5 separate regions of the Homo sapiens genome follow, and regions 1, 3, 4 and 5 are each linked to region 2. The links are contacts of gene promoters, found by promoter capture Hi-C in blood cells and fetal thymus (Javierre and others, 2016). All regions are on one chromosome and are shown on one strand. Each heading gives the region's core, a stretch centred on a gene start or on the middle of the fragment in contact. The rest is flanking DNA. Distances are from core to core; before and after follow the strand shown.

The links. The method cuts DNA at HindIII sites, captures the fragments that hold promoters and counts their contacts. A CHiCAGO score of 5 or more calls a contact.
Region 1: a contact is called between a fragment that was not itself captured here and the fragment with the promoter of RPE65 in region 2, in 7 of 17 cell types (M2 macrophages, M0 macrophages, M1 macrophages and 4 more). The highest score is 17.7, in M2 macrophages.
Region 3: a contact is called between a fragment that was not itself captured here and the fragment with the promoter of RPE65 in region 2, in 1 of 17 cell types (M2 macrophages). The highest score is 5.9, in M2 macrophages.
Region 4: a contact is called between a fragment that was not itself captured here and the fragment with the promoter of RPE65 in region 2, in 1 of 17 cell types (M2 macrophages). The highest score is 5.0, in M2 macrophages.
Region 5: a fragment that was not itself captured here is called in contact with the fragment with the promoter of RPE65 in region 2 in 2 of 17 cell types (M2 macrophages and endothelial precursors); the score reaches 6.8 in M2 macrophages.

Annotation. Positions count from the first base shown.
Region 1 is chr1:69,730,165-69,732,864 of GRCh38, reverse strand. The region is part of intron 2 of LRRC7 (leucine rich repeat containing 7); the gene reads right to left. Among named protein-coding and RNA genes, the nearest start is that of LRRC7, 160 kb to the right of the region's middle. The HindIII fragment of the contact is 3,762 bases long and covers 1-2,700 here.
Region 2 is chr1:68,448,704-68,451,403 of GRCh38, reverse strand. RPE65 (retinoid isomerohydrolase RPE65) reads left to right here and starts at 1,450. Exons shown (of 14, transcript NM_000329.3): 1 at 1,450-1,509; 2 at 2,698-2,700. The coding sequence starts at 1,499. It overlaps LOC124904198 (a long non-coding RNA gene), which reads right to left. Exons shown (of 2, transcript XR_007066164.1): 2 at 1-2,700. The HindIII fragment of the contact is 10,150 bases long and covers 1-2,700 here.
Region 3 is chr1:69,759,906-69,762,605 of GRCh38, reverse strand. It overlaps LRRC7 (leucine rich repeat containing 7), which reads right to left. Exons shown (of 27, transcript NM_001370785.2): 3 at 2,213-2,415. LOC124904199 (a long non-coding RNA gene) reads left to right here and starts at 1,798. Exons shown (of 2, transcript XR_007066167.1): 1 at 1,798-2,061. The HindIII fragment of the contact is 2,180 bases long and covers 315-2,494 here.
Region 4 is chr1:69,684,364-69,687,063 of GRCh38, reverse strand. All of the region lies in intron 2 of LRRC7 (leucine rich repeat containing 7), which reads right to left. Among named protein-coding and RNA genes, the nearest start is that of LRRC7, 120 kb to the right of the region's middle. The HindIII fragment of the contact is 2,216 bases long and covers 259-2,474 here.
Region 5 is chr1:69,706,525-69,709,224 of GRCh38, reverse strand. All of the region lies in intron 2 of LRRC7 (leucine rich repeat containing 7), which reads right to left. Among named protein-coding and RNA genes, the nearest start is that of LRRC7, 140 kb to the right of the region's middle. The HindIII fragment of the contact is 5,159 bases long and covers 1-2,700 here.

The DNA of each region.
Region 1 (2,700 bases), core at 200-2,699, 1.3 Mb before region 2:
TGCTTTATATCTATGGTGTTAAAGTGGTTTACTCTATTGAAGTATCTTCATAAAAGTGTGTCAGTTGCAGCCCCATCCTCATTCACATTTAATTTTTAGTTCAAGTAAACTAAAATATTTTTGTATATAAAAAGGAGACAGATGAACTCTTCATTTTCTCAAAATTTAGAATCCAAATATTGCAAGTATATATAAAGCCCAATTGAGGATTGAAGAATTCTGTTTTCTTCAGTATGGGACTTTATTATTATATTTACTTAAATCTAATCTTTCTAGATTATTGTCCCTGCTTGTCCATATGAAACTTAAAAAAAATTCTCTTGCAACAGAATGTTAACATACTGGCCTTTAAATAATTGCTCTTTTAAAGTTCTGTGAATTTGGGAAAACTATTGGATCCTTTATTTCTAAGTTTTCAGGGACTTTTTTAAAACCTGACCAGAGCTTTTGGAATTTCTCACTGACTGCATATTTTAGTCATAACAGTGTTCATCTTTCCTTGAGCAATTAGCTGTATGTATTTTTTTTCCCTATTTTTCATTAGATTGTGTAAATCTATCGAACTTTAAAAAATTCTAAACAACCTTTAAAAAATCTTTTTTTGCCCTAGTATTAAGTATTTCCTTTATTTAAAAAAATATTTAGCTTTTTCTTGAAGTTATCTTCCAGACATTTTTAAATAAAGTCAGTATTTTAAAAACTAGCTAATTATTATTACTACTAAATTGGAATTACTTTTGTAACATGTAATACTTTTTTTAATCGAGAGTCTGTTTTCCTTTTTTATTTCATGTTCTAGGCACTGAATGGCTCAAATAATCGTTCCATTGGTATAAAAGAAATCAAGCAAAACACTTTGTCTAGTATTTTAAATATATTAACTAGTTAGCAATAAACATGTTATTTTTGTTCTATAAGGGGAAAATTTAGGGACAGTAGAGAGGACATTTTCACATTTTACTTGGAAGTACCCAGATAACTTCTCACTAATAATAAGCAAGATCTTGTAATAATGTAGCTCCTATTTCATAAGTGCTTATAAACTGCCCAGAACATCTAATGATATTCTCCCTCTTTCAAAATTCATCAATAGAGAATCCTTGTATAGATTTGCTAACTTTCATAGATGGAGACACCTTTTAATACTTTGGACATTGAACATTTTGTCCCAGATAATGTTTTTCAAATTGGTTCTGCAATAGCAAAGTGAACACCTTTCAAATGTACAATGCAAACAAAAAGTTACCTTTGAAGAGGATGTCTAAATACATTTATCATTCTCTTTTTCAGAGGGCTAAGTTAGGAACAGTTTATTTCCTGTTAGCATCCTCCAAATAAGCACATTTTCTTGTGTTTCTTCCACATTTTGGTAAAACAATAGTAAGTTTATACTTGATATGGTTGGGCTATATCTCCACCCAAATCTTATCTTGAATTGTAGTTCCCATAATCCCCACATATTGTGGGAGGAACCTGGTGGGAGGTAATTGAATCATGGGGGCAGTTACCCACATGCTGCTGTTCTTGTAATAGTGAGTGAGTTCTCATGAGGTCTCATGGTTTTTTTGGGGGTGGGGGTAATGGAGTCTTGCTGGAGTGCAGTGGCGTGATCTTGGCTCACTGCAAGCTCAGCCTCCCAGGTTCACACCATTCTCTAGCCTCAGCCTCCCGAGTAGCTGGGACTACAGACGCCCGCCACCACATCCGGCTATTTTTTTGTATTTTTAGTAGAGATGGGGTTTCACTGCATTAGCATAAGATGGTCTCTATCTCCTGACTTCATGATCCGCCCACCTCAGCCTCCCAAGGTGCTGGGATTACAGGTGTGAGCCACTGCACCCGGCCGAGATCTCATGGTTTTATAAGGAGCTTTTTCCCCTTTTTCTCGGCACTGCTTGCTGCCGCCATGTGAAGATAGATATTCTTGATTCCCCTTCTGTTATGATTGTAAGTTTTCTGAGGCCTCCTGAGCCCTGAATTGTGAGTCAATTAAAGCTCTTTCCTTTATAAATTACCTAGTCTCAGGTATATCTTTATTAGTAGTATGAGAACAGACTAATACAGTAAATTGGCACCAGGTAGTGGGGAGCTGCTCTAAAGATAGCTGAAAATGTGGAAGCTACTTTGGAACTGGTAATAGGCAGAGGTTGGGACAGTTGGAAGCGTTCAGAAGAAGATAGGAAAATGTGGAAAAGTTTGGAGCTTCCTAGAGACTTGGAGGACTCAGAAGAAAGGAAGATGTGGAAAAGTTTGGAGTTGCCTAGAAACTTGAATGGCTTTGACCAAAATGTTAATAGTGATATGGACAATAAAGTGCAGGATGAGGTGGTCTCAGATGGAGATGAGGAACTTGGAAACTGGAGTAAAAGTCACTCTTGCTAAGCAAAGAGACTGGTGGCATTTTGTCCCTGCCCTTGAGATCTGTGGAACTTTGAACTTGAGAGGGATGATTTAGGGTATCTGATGGAAGAAATTTCTATGCAGCAAAGCACTTAAGAGGAAGCAGGGAATAAAAGTTTAAAAAATTTGCAGCCTGACAACGCTGTAAAAAAGAAAAACCCATTTTCTGGAAAGACATTCAAGCCCACTGCAGAAATTTACATAAGTAACCAGATGCCAAATACTAATCACCAAGACAATGGGGAAAATGTCTCCAGGGATGTCAGAGACCCTCATGGCAGCCCCTCTCATCACAGGCCT
Region 2 (2,700 bases), core at 201-2,700:
CTTTGAGGAGAAGTTTCTTATTTGAAATATTTTGGAAACAGGTCTTTTAATGTGGAAAGATAGATATTAATCTCCTCTTCTATTACTCTCCAAGATCCAACAAAAGTGATTATACCCCCCAAAATATGATGGTAGTATCTTATACTACCATCATTTTATAGGCATAGGGCTCTTAGCTGCAAATAATGGAACTAACTCTAATAAAGCAGAACGCAAATATTGTAAATATTAGAGAGCTAACAATCTCTGGGATGGCTAAAGGATGGAGCTTGGAGGCTACCCAGCCAGTAACAATATTCCGGGCTCCACTGTTGAATGGAGACACTACAACTGCCTTGGATGGGCAGAGATATTATGGATGCTAAGCCCCAGGTGCTACCATTAGGACTTCTACCACTGTCCCTAACGGGTGGAGCCCATCACATGCCTATGCCCTCACTGTAAGGAAATGAAGCTACTGTTGTATATCTTGGGAAGCACTTGGATTAATTGTTATACAGTTTTGTTGAAGAAGACCCCTAGGGTAAGTAGCCATAACTGCACACTAAATTTAAAATTGTTAATGAGTTTCTCAAAAAAAATGTTAAGGTTGTTAGCTGGTATAGTATATATCTTGCCTGTTTTCCAAGGACTTCTTTGGGCAGTACCTTGTCTGTGCTGGCAAGCAACTGAGACTTAATGAAAGAGTATTGGAGATATGAATGAATTGATGCTGTATACTCTCAGAGTGCCAAACATATACCAATGGACAAGAAGGTGAGGCAGAGAGCAGACAGGCATTAGTGACAAGCAAAGATATGCAGAATTTCATTCTCAGCAAATCAAAAGTCCTCAACCTGGTTGGAAGAATATTGGCACTGAATGGTATCAATAAGGTTGCTAGAGAGGGTTAGAGGTGCACAATGTGCTTCCATAACATTTTATACTTCTCCAATCTTAGCACTAATCAAACATGGTTGAATACTTTGTTTACTATAACTCTTACAGAGTTATAAGATCTGTGAAGACAGGGACAGGGACAATACCCATCTCTGTCTGGTTCATAGGTGGTATGTAATAGATATTTTTAAAAATAAGTGAGTTAATGAATGAGGGTGAGAATGAAGGCACAGAGGTATTAGGGGGAGGTGGGCCCCAGAGAATGGTGCCAAGGTCCAGTGGGGTGACTGGGATCAGCTCAGGCCTGACGCTGGCCACTCCCACCTAGCTCCTTTCTTTCTAATCTGTTCTCATTCTCCTTGGGAAGGATTGAGGTCTCTGGAAAACAGCCAAACAACTGTTATGGGAACAGCAAGCCCAAATAAAGCCAAGCATCAGGGGGATCTGAGAGCTGAAAGCAACTTCTGTTCCCCCTCCCTCAGCTGAAGGGGTGGGGAAGGGCTCCCAAAGCCATAACTCCTTTTAAGGGATTTAGAAGGCATAAAAAGGCCCCTGGCTGAGAACTTCCTTCTTCATTCTGCAGTTGGTGCCAGAACTCTGGATCCTGAACTGGAAGAAAATGTCTATCCAGTAAGTATCTCTGGGAGACTTTTTTAAAACACCTTCATGGATTCATGATAAATGTGCTATTTCAAGGGCTCCTGAAGAGAAGGCATTGATTAATGACCTGTTTAGGAAAGACCCTTGAATTTTGGTGGGGAAATTTTTTCCTGCTTATGTATTAAAGCAACTAGCTAGAATTCAGGTCCAAATTATGGGGGGTTTGTGTGACTTAGCCCGGGGTTTGGAAGCAGTCTTGAGTATGGGGATTTCAGACAGACTTGGGCTCCACTCCTTGCCCAGTCATTTCCTAGTGTGTGACTTTGGACAAATTACCTAACTTTTTAAGTCTAGCTTTTCCTGTATATAGAAAGATGTCACAATAGCTTTTACTCCATTATGTTACTGTGAGATTTAAAAGAGATAATACCATGCAAAGTTCTTTTTATGGTATGTAGGACATAGTAATTGTTTAGTAAAAGGTAATTATTATAATTGAGTCTGGTCAGAGATTCCACTCTTTGAAGTTACAACATGAAACTGAACAGAGGATGTAGAAAGTAAACAAAAATATAGAACCTGAATCTCCTGGTCTGACTATGATGAAAAAGTACTGTAGGTCTTGGGGATTGGTAGAGAAATGAGATGATGGGGAAAAAATTATGGTATAATATGAGTGAATAATGAAAGATGAGGTACCTGACCCAAAAAGCTGTCATCTCTCAACCCCTAGGAAGGAGATAAATGGGTCTCTCCTTGAGGCAAGAAAATCAATGATGCTGTGAGCTGAGCATGTTGATAGGGTGGGAGAATACTGTGGGAAGGACCCTGTTTAGGAACAAATTTCAGGAAGTGAACTGATGGCAGTAGGATTGATTGATTTGTCTTCCGAAGTAAGGAAAAACTGCAGAGGACAGGATTAAGTTCACTGTAACCATTGACATTAAAAGAGAGGTCATGTCTCTTGACATCAGAGCAGTGATCTGGGACCCCCTTCCATACCTGAGTAGTCTTCCCCACCCCCAGCCTCACGTGCTCCTCCCGCCCTCACCTTCGCTTCTCCCCCCACCCCCACCCCCACCCAGCTGAGACTAGACCGGCAGGAGTGAACAGGCTTTGAGCCAGCCCTAGAGTGCCTTCTCTCCTGCAGCTCTGCCTCTATCTCTGCGGACTTTGAGCATCAACATGGGCTTCTTCCTTATTCTTCCACCATTTCAGGGT
Region 3 (2,700 bases), core at 155-2,654, 1.3 Mb before region 2:
CCCAGTCTCCCTACATATTGCCCCCATCCACATCCATGCACCTGCAGTTCCAGACTCTTCACAACTCTGCTCCCTTCAACTCTTGATGCATCTTAAATTTTCCATCTGTGCTTTTTGGTCAAGTTCTTCCCTTACTTCTCCAAAAATGGAGCTCTTCTCTATACATACGCTCTACAATGGTACTTGGCTCTTTGGCTCCGATTATACATCACCGAGCACTTGCCTCTAATGCTTCAGTTTTTCTCTGTAATTAGGTTGTCAGATCCGGAAGGGCAGAGATCGAGATTTATTTCTCTTGTAACCTCCCTAAAGCTTCAAGTACTGTGTAGTAGAATGGATATTAAATAAATACTTGCTTGATAAATTAACCATGTTTTTACTACCTATCTTACAAAATTTGTTGCATAGAAATGGAAAAAGATTTAAAATGACCAGATTGGCCTAGGGTTGCTAGATTTAGCAAATAAAAATACAGGATGATAAGTTAAATTTGAACATCATGTAAATAAAAAAAATTTTTTTAGTGTAAATGTATCCCATACAAAATTTGGGACATAATTTTACAAAAATGTTGTCTGTTTCTGAATTTAAAAGTAAAATATAACTGGGTGTCCTCTATTTCTTTCTGGCAATCCTAGATTGGCCTGACCTAGAAACCCGCCACCCCCCATGCCTATTTTCCTAAATTAGAATGGGTTACCACATTTATGACTTATGCAAACTTATATACTTTTGCTAATCAAGTCCTGTGGCATATGAAGTTCTCTGCATTGTTCTCTCAGTCAGGGACAACAGAGACTCAGTATCTATTATGTGAAATTCATCATGCCTGCCCATGTACCAGGAAACAGAGATGAATACGGTGCCATCTTTGCCCTTAAGTAGTTCCTCATCTGGTACAACAGACAGTCTATTTCACTCCAGGCTTTAGTTGATGTGCAATCCTAGTGTGAATCCATGTAGTCAATAATATTTTTTATAGGCCTGACCTACCTCTAAAAAATACACTATACCTGTGTATAGTGTCATCTAAGGAAATATCCCAGATGACACAATACACAGATTGTCAAAAATGAAGTATATTGTTTTTGAAGTACATGTTAAAAAGTTCTTAACTTTGAAGTGTTATGTAAACAGCACAATTTATAATTCTACATTTGATCTTAGCCAAAAGGCCGGCAAATGATAATTTATAACTTTAAATAAAAATAATTATTCATAATTTATTTTGATCAGCATATTGAAATATCAGATTCTGATAATTAATTTCAAGTTTTTATTGTGGAAGATTCTTTTTCTGATTACTGCATATTTAATATACATTTTTACTTTTTAGCATAAGCAACAGAAATTGAGTGCATGACGTTTTTTTCCCTTCTCAGCCGTATAAATCCTTCACAGGTAAATACCATGCTAACTACTTAATCTGGGTTACTTACTTAGGTGACTGTTAGGATCCCTTGATTTAGATTTTGAACTTCTCTGCTGTGTGGTCTTGGTCTGCTTTAGCTAATCTCTTATCATCCAGTCTTTTCTGCAATAAGGACTAAGGTCACAGGAGACCTGGTTTTCTTTGCATGGCACAATGCCATAATGGCAGTGTGTGTGTGTGCAGGTGTGCACGTGTGTGTGTGTGTGTGTGTGTATGTGCACAAAGTTTGATAGTTTCAAATTCCTAGTAAACTTTTTACTAGTTTTATGCCACATACATCCAGTGCTACTTGTAATAATCAAATATTTTACATACAGGTACAAAAACATGTTTTTCATAATAGCATTAATGTGTGTAAAAGCATTTCTTAGACTTACAGCATACAATTCAAGGTTGTAATATAATGTCACCTTAATATACAACATAGAAATTTTCAGTTCTGGAGTAGTGTCATATTTTTCCTTTCTTTCTAAACATAAACTATTGATCTCAACCCTCTACTCTATATTTTTATAGAGGTCATTTTAAATGAAGATAACGAGGCATAATCCATCAAATGGTGGTTTCCATAGAGCTCAATTTGTTATTAACAGAGGCCCGTGAAATCATAAATGGAGTAACATTAAAAGGTAATGAGAATATTGGGGGAAGTTATATCAATTTCAATGACTTGTCAGTTACCTAGATAGGAGCCCATAGTTCACATTACCATTATAATAAAGTATTTGAAAATTATGAAATACTCATTTACATTGTATATTTTAGGTTGTCAAAAGTTACCTTGGGTAGTTCTTCAATTTGATTGGCATCTAGATAAAGCTCCTCTAATGTTCGTTCGAAGTTAAAGACCTCCTTTGGCACCTGCTGAAGACTGCAGTGGGAGTAATCTAAAACTGAGATGATTTCTTCTTCACCTCGGAAACATCGGCATGGCACCAGACGGCCGATGATTTTCCGTTTGGTGGTCATCTCCAGGCACTGCACTAGAGAAACGCAGAAACAAAACAAAACAAAACAGCTTATCCAGTGCCCTTGGAAGGCATTCTTGTAATATTTAAAGCTTAGAAATTTAATTTTGGTATACAGTCTAGAATACTTTAAAGTAGGACACACACACGCATTGTATCATTAAATCCTTAAACAGCCCTGCGAAGTACGTGAAATAGGTTTTATTCCCATCTAGCAAATTCGAAAATGGGCTCAAAAAGTGCGAGAGATTTCCCATCATCACACAGCTTTGGAATGGCAGAATCGAATTAGGATACAAT
Region 4 (2,700 bases), core at 117-2,616, 1.2 Mb before region 2:
AAATCGAATACATACAATTTCATGATTATTAAGTCCTCTTGATGAACTGACCTTTTTTATCCCTTGTAATATGTTTTGCTTTGAAGTTACCTTTATCTTGATATTAATATAGTCACTCTAGCTTTCATTTAAATAATTTAGCATGGTATTTCTTTTTCTATCCCTTTATATTTAACCTTTTTTTTATTTTTGCATCTAAAGGACATTTTTATAAGCAACATATAGTTGGTCTTTCTTTTTTATCTAATCTGACAAGCTTTGTCTTTTAACCATGGTATTTACACCATTTACACTTAATGTAATTATTGATGTATTAGGACTTAAGTCTAATACATCTAATTTTATTATTTGTTTTCTGTTCTGTTCTCTTGGTTTCTTGTTTCTATGTTTCTTTTTCCTTCACATCCTCTAGGTTACATGAGTATATTTAGTTCACCTTTGATTTACTTATAATGTTTTTGAGTGTATTATTTTGTAGTCTTCTTAGTGGTTGCTCTAGGTATTACAATATACGTAACTTATCACAGTCTACTGGTATCAGTGTTATACCATTTCAAGTGAAGTAGAGAAACCTTATATCAATTTAGGTCCCTTTACCCTTTCCACTTTTTAAATATTAATTGACTTATTTCATCTACATACATGTGCACCACATCAGATGGTATTATAGTTTTTGCTTCAACCATGAAACATAAGGTAAAGAAAATTCTATTATTCATACTTCTGTTTTTATTCATTCTACTGTTCTTTACTTCCTGAAGGTACAAGTCTTCTTTTGTTAAACTTTTCCTTTGTGTTTGGAGAGTTCTGTGTAGCCATTGTGTTGGGGAAGGTTTGTTAGCAACAAATTCTCTCAGTTTTCTTTCTGCTGAGAGTGATTTTATTTCTCCTTCATTGCTGAAGGATGGTTTAGTTGGATATAGGATTCAGAGTTGACAATTCTTATAATACTTGAAAATCTTGTATGTCATTTCCTTCTGGCCTCTGTGGTTTCAGATGAAAATATACTGTCATTTTAATTGATGCTTCTTTATATGTAATGTGTTATTTCTGTTCCTTTATATGTAATGTGTTATTGCACTCTGGCTGTTTTAAATATTTTTCTTTATCTTTGGTTCTCACAAGTTTAATTATGAAATGTCCTGTTGTGGATTTTTTTTTTTTGGTTTATCTTCTTTGGAGTTGACCCAGCTTCTTGAATATCTAGATTTACGTCTTTTGTCAACTTTTAGAAGTTTGCAACCATTACTTCTTCAAATACTTTTTCTGTCCCATACTCCTTCTCCTCTCCTGGGACTCTGATGATACAAATATTATATATGTTATTATTTTTCCACAAATCCCTGAGGTTCTGTTCATTTTTGTTTAGTGTATATTCTCCTTGTTGTTCATATTGAGTAAATTCCACTAATCTACATATTCATTTAATCTCTTTTCTGTAATTTTCACTCTACTATTGATTCAATTAAGTGATATTTTTATTTTGGTAATTTTGGTTTTCAGTTACATAATTTCCATTTGGTTCTTTTTTATAACTTCTTTTTTTTCCCCTGAGATTTTCTGTTTTTCTTCACTTGTTTCAAGAGATTATATAATTGTCTCCTGAAGCATTCTTATGATGGATGCTTCAGTCTCCTTCTCAGAAATTCCATTATCTAATTTGTCTTAGTATTGGGGTCAGTGGATTGTCTTTTGTCAGACTGTGGTTTTTCTGGTTCATGGTATGATGGGTTACAGTCAACTGCATTTTGAATATTTTGATTATTATGTTAGGAGACTTTTAACCCTATTGAAACCTTTTATTTTAGCAGGTATGTATCCTGTTTAGGTTTAGCTTATAGGTTTTGGACTAATTTTGTGGGCTTTAGTTCCAATGGCAGTTAGTGTTCTGATTTTTTATAATGCTAATGCTGATCTGGTCTGCTTCATTCTTCTGGCACTGTCGGGGCTTCTGCTAAAACTCTGCTGGTGTCATCCGCTAGAGTTAAAAGTGCTGCTCTGGATTCTCTAATATTCCTAGGTAAACCTCTGGGAAGGCACAGAAGCCACTGAGCCTGGGTCTCTTTATGACACTGGGTGAAAGATAGGAAGACACAGGGCTTTACTGCTGCCACCATTACCACCAGATAGGTCTGCCCACCAGGGAGAGCAGAGCAGGGATGGCCTGGGGCCTTACTGTTCTGTTTCTGCAGGTGAATTGAACTGCCTGTCGATTGGGATTATAGAATAAGATATCGGTGGCTCTCTTCCAAACCTCTGTTGTTTTTCTCTCTCTTGGTCCTCTGGACTGAGCGAGTAGGCTTTGCTTTTTTTTTCCTTCTTTTCTTCATGCCTGTTGACAGTACCAGATTGCAAGCCTCTCTGGTATGCAGTCCAGGGATGTATAGGAGATAAAAAGAAAATGCAAGAAGCATACCATGATGTCTTTCTTCAAGTCCTGTTGTCCTAGTCAGTTTGCCTTCTTCTCTGAAGCTTTCAGAGTCCTTTCAAAATGGTCTGTTGAAGAATTTTTCCAGAGTGTTTAGCTTCATTTAGAATTGAGTATCAGGAAAGGTGAGTCTATGCCATCTGTTCCAGAATCAAAAGCTTGGCCTTCCCTCCCCTTCTTTCACCTTCCTTCCAACTCTCTTTTTCTCCCTTTCTCTTTTTCTTTCCTTATGCCTTTCTTTCCTTCCTTTTACTCCTTCTCTTCATCTCCCC
Region 5 (2,700 bases), core at 53-2,552, 1.3 Mb before region 2:
TGACATGAAGGAGAAATAAACTTTACTATGTTATTTTGGAGTTTAATTTTGGAGTTTAATTTCTTACCACTGCATAGTCTATTCTTTCCTGTCTAATACAAAGTTTCATGAGCAAGACAGACACTAATCAAATAGTTACAGAAAATACAATTGCTTTGAAGGGAACAATCTGAGTGCTCTGAACTGAAGTAACAGGGAAGCCTTTTTGTAGTAGATCGGATAATATTTCAGAAATATTTAATCCCTCCCTTATTTTCATAGAAGGAATATACCAGTGATGTTGGTTGGGTTTGGCTTTGTGACTTGCTTTAGTCAATAAAATAGGTGGAAGTAATGGTGGACCGGTTCTCAATTTATCCCTTAAAAGGTCTTGTGTGTTTCTGCTCACATTGTTCCATTTCTGCCACACATAAAGGCTATAAAAGAAACCTGTCCAGGTTAGCCCACTGGCCCTAGGAGGAATATGAGCGACATATGGAGCAGAGTTGTACCAACAGAGACTCCTTAGATCAGCTGACCTCCAGACATGAACATGCCCATATGAGATCAGCACAACCACTGAGTGAAGTCTATCCTTACCATCAGGCCCCCAACCAATGCTCACACATTTGGCCTAAATAGATGTTTAGAATTGCATACCACAGAAATTTTGTTATTGATATACACACTATTACACTAATAACTAACTGACATATCTTCTCAGATAAAGACCTCAATGAGGTGGTAACAGTTTAGTGAACACCTAAAGGAAGAAAATTCTGGGAGAAGAAACAACGTTCAAAAAGGCACTAAGGTATGTGGTATATTTTAAGGAACTCGATGGTCAGTATGCCTAAGCCTAATAAGCATGAAGGAGGGGGTTTCAGTAATAGATGGGGGAGATCAGTCCTTGTAGACTGTGGTAGGAAATTAATTTTTAAATTTTACAACATCCAATAGGGACTGTTGAAGGATAGCTTAAAGGTGGGAAATGAATTGGAAGAGAAGACAGAAATACTTGACTTGAAAATTCACTTATATATATAGCAAACACATTGTTTTTACTTAGGTTTTATGTGTCATACGTATATATTGTGGCTTTAAGGGTGCTGATGGACATCAGAGGCCCTTCTACATTTCCACTTGGTACTTCTAAGAATGCCAGATAAGGCAGAAGGACTGGTGAAGCTCTGACCAATTTTACTGAACATGACTGATCTCTCAGCCTACTTTTGTTAGCCTAATAGTGTATATAAAGGATACTCAAGGGTTTCTTTGCAAAATGAGTACTCTCTTATACCACCCGTTAGAACCATGTGGTCCAGCAGAGTATATAATGTGCAGTGAAGGATACAGAGGAGTCATAAACTGACCATTATAACAAAATGAAATCTGCATCTCACCTTGGTCTGTCTGGGTCTTTATTGCACTTCATTAGTTCTAAAGCAAGAGTCTGCTTCCTCACAAGTCTCTATGACTCTAACTTTACCTACCTCCAAGACTATAATCTAGTCTAGAGATGACTTTCTAAAACATTTTTATTATGCATGTTTGACTTGGGGGCAAGGAAACAAGAGTGAGGAAAAGGAAAATTAGCATTTACTGAATGCATATTTTATTCTAGATATTATCTTAGGTGATTAGAGATTATATCTTTATCAGGTTGGTTTCCCCTGCCTCAGACTGCCTGAGACAGAGTTGAGAATAAATAATTTTTTTGGGAGGGAATACCAGGAAACACCAATAAAAGAGTAAAGAAATAAAACAGGGAAGGAAAGGAAGCCAGAAATTGGCGCGTAATAAAGCAGATTACCAATCTGGGTAACTGAGGCTCTATTCTGCGGGCAGATGCTGACAGACACTGTGGAATATGCCTCAGGGTGACTCAGCAGAGGGATGAAGAGGGTTGGCTATTTATTCTTCTACTCCCATCTGTCAATAATGGAAGGCTGCATCTGGGGGCATTCTCTCCTCTGTACTTACAGGCTGCATTGAACACAAGCCGAAAGACTGTTCTCAGGCAGATATGACAGTGTCTGCACTTACATGCCATGGCATGACTGGAATAACAAGGATCAAATGGACATGGGAGGATTCTCAACAGCTACAGAAACTTTTTTTTATTTATTCCTCATTAATCATCATCATTTTAGACCCTTAATTCCCTTATTGCTCAACTTAAAGACACATCCTACCACACTCTAAAACTTGTTTCTTTCCTTCTGATTCCTTATCACAATTGTTTACTGGTAATTTTATCCTTTTTTGTATATTTTCTGTATTTGTCATTAGACTGTGAGCATCATAAGGCCCAGAACCGAATTTATTTTATTCATCAACATCAAATACAAAGTAGGAACCACTTGAGATTTGTTGAATCAATGAATAAAAACATCTCTATGACATAGGTAGTGTGTTCTTCGTTAATGGGTGGGAAGCTGTGGCCATACTGGTGGGGACAGAATTCCAATACAGGAAAGTCTGACATAAATCCCATACTCTACCACACTGTGATAATGACACCATGCTGTGTTCCTGCTTCCTGCCTCAGAAACTCAATTATTGTCTATTTCCTGCATCATTAAATCTTATCTCCTCTGCCTGACTTTCAAATCCTTCTATAATCAGGCTAGTTAGATTAGTCTTGCAGCTTTAAAAAAACAGTACACAAATACATTATAGGATGAATGAAATATTTCTTAAGGCCATGTGTGAAAATGA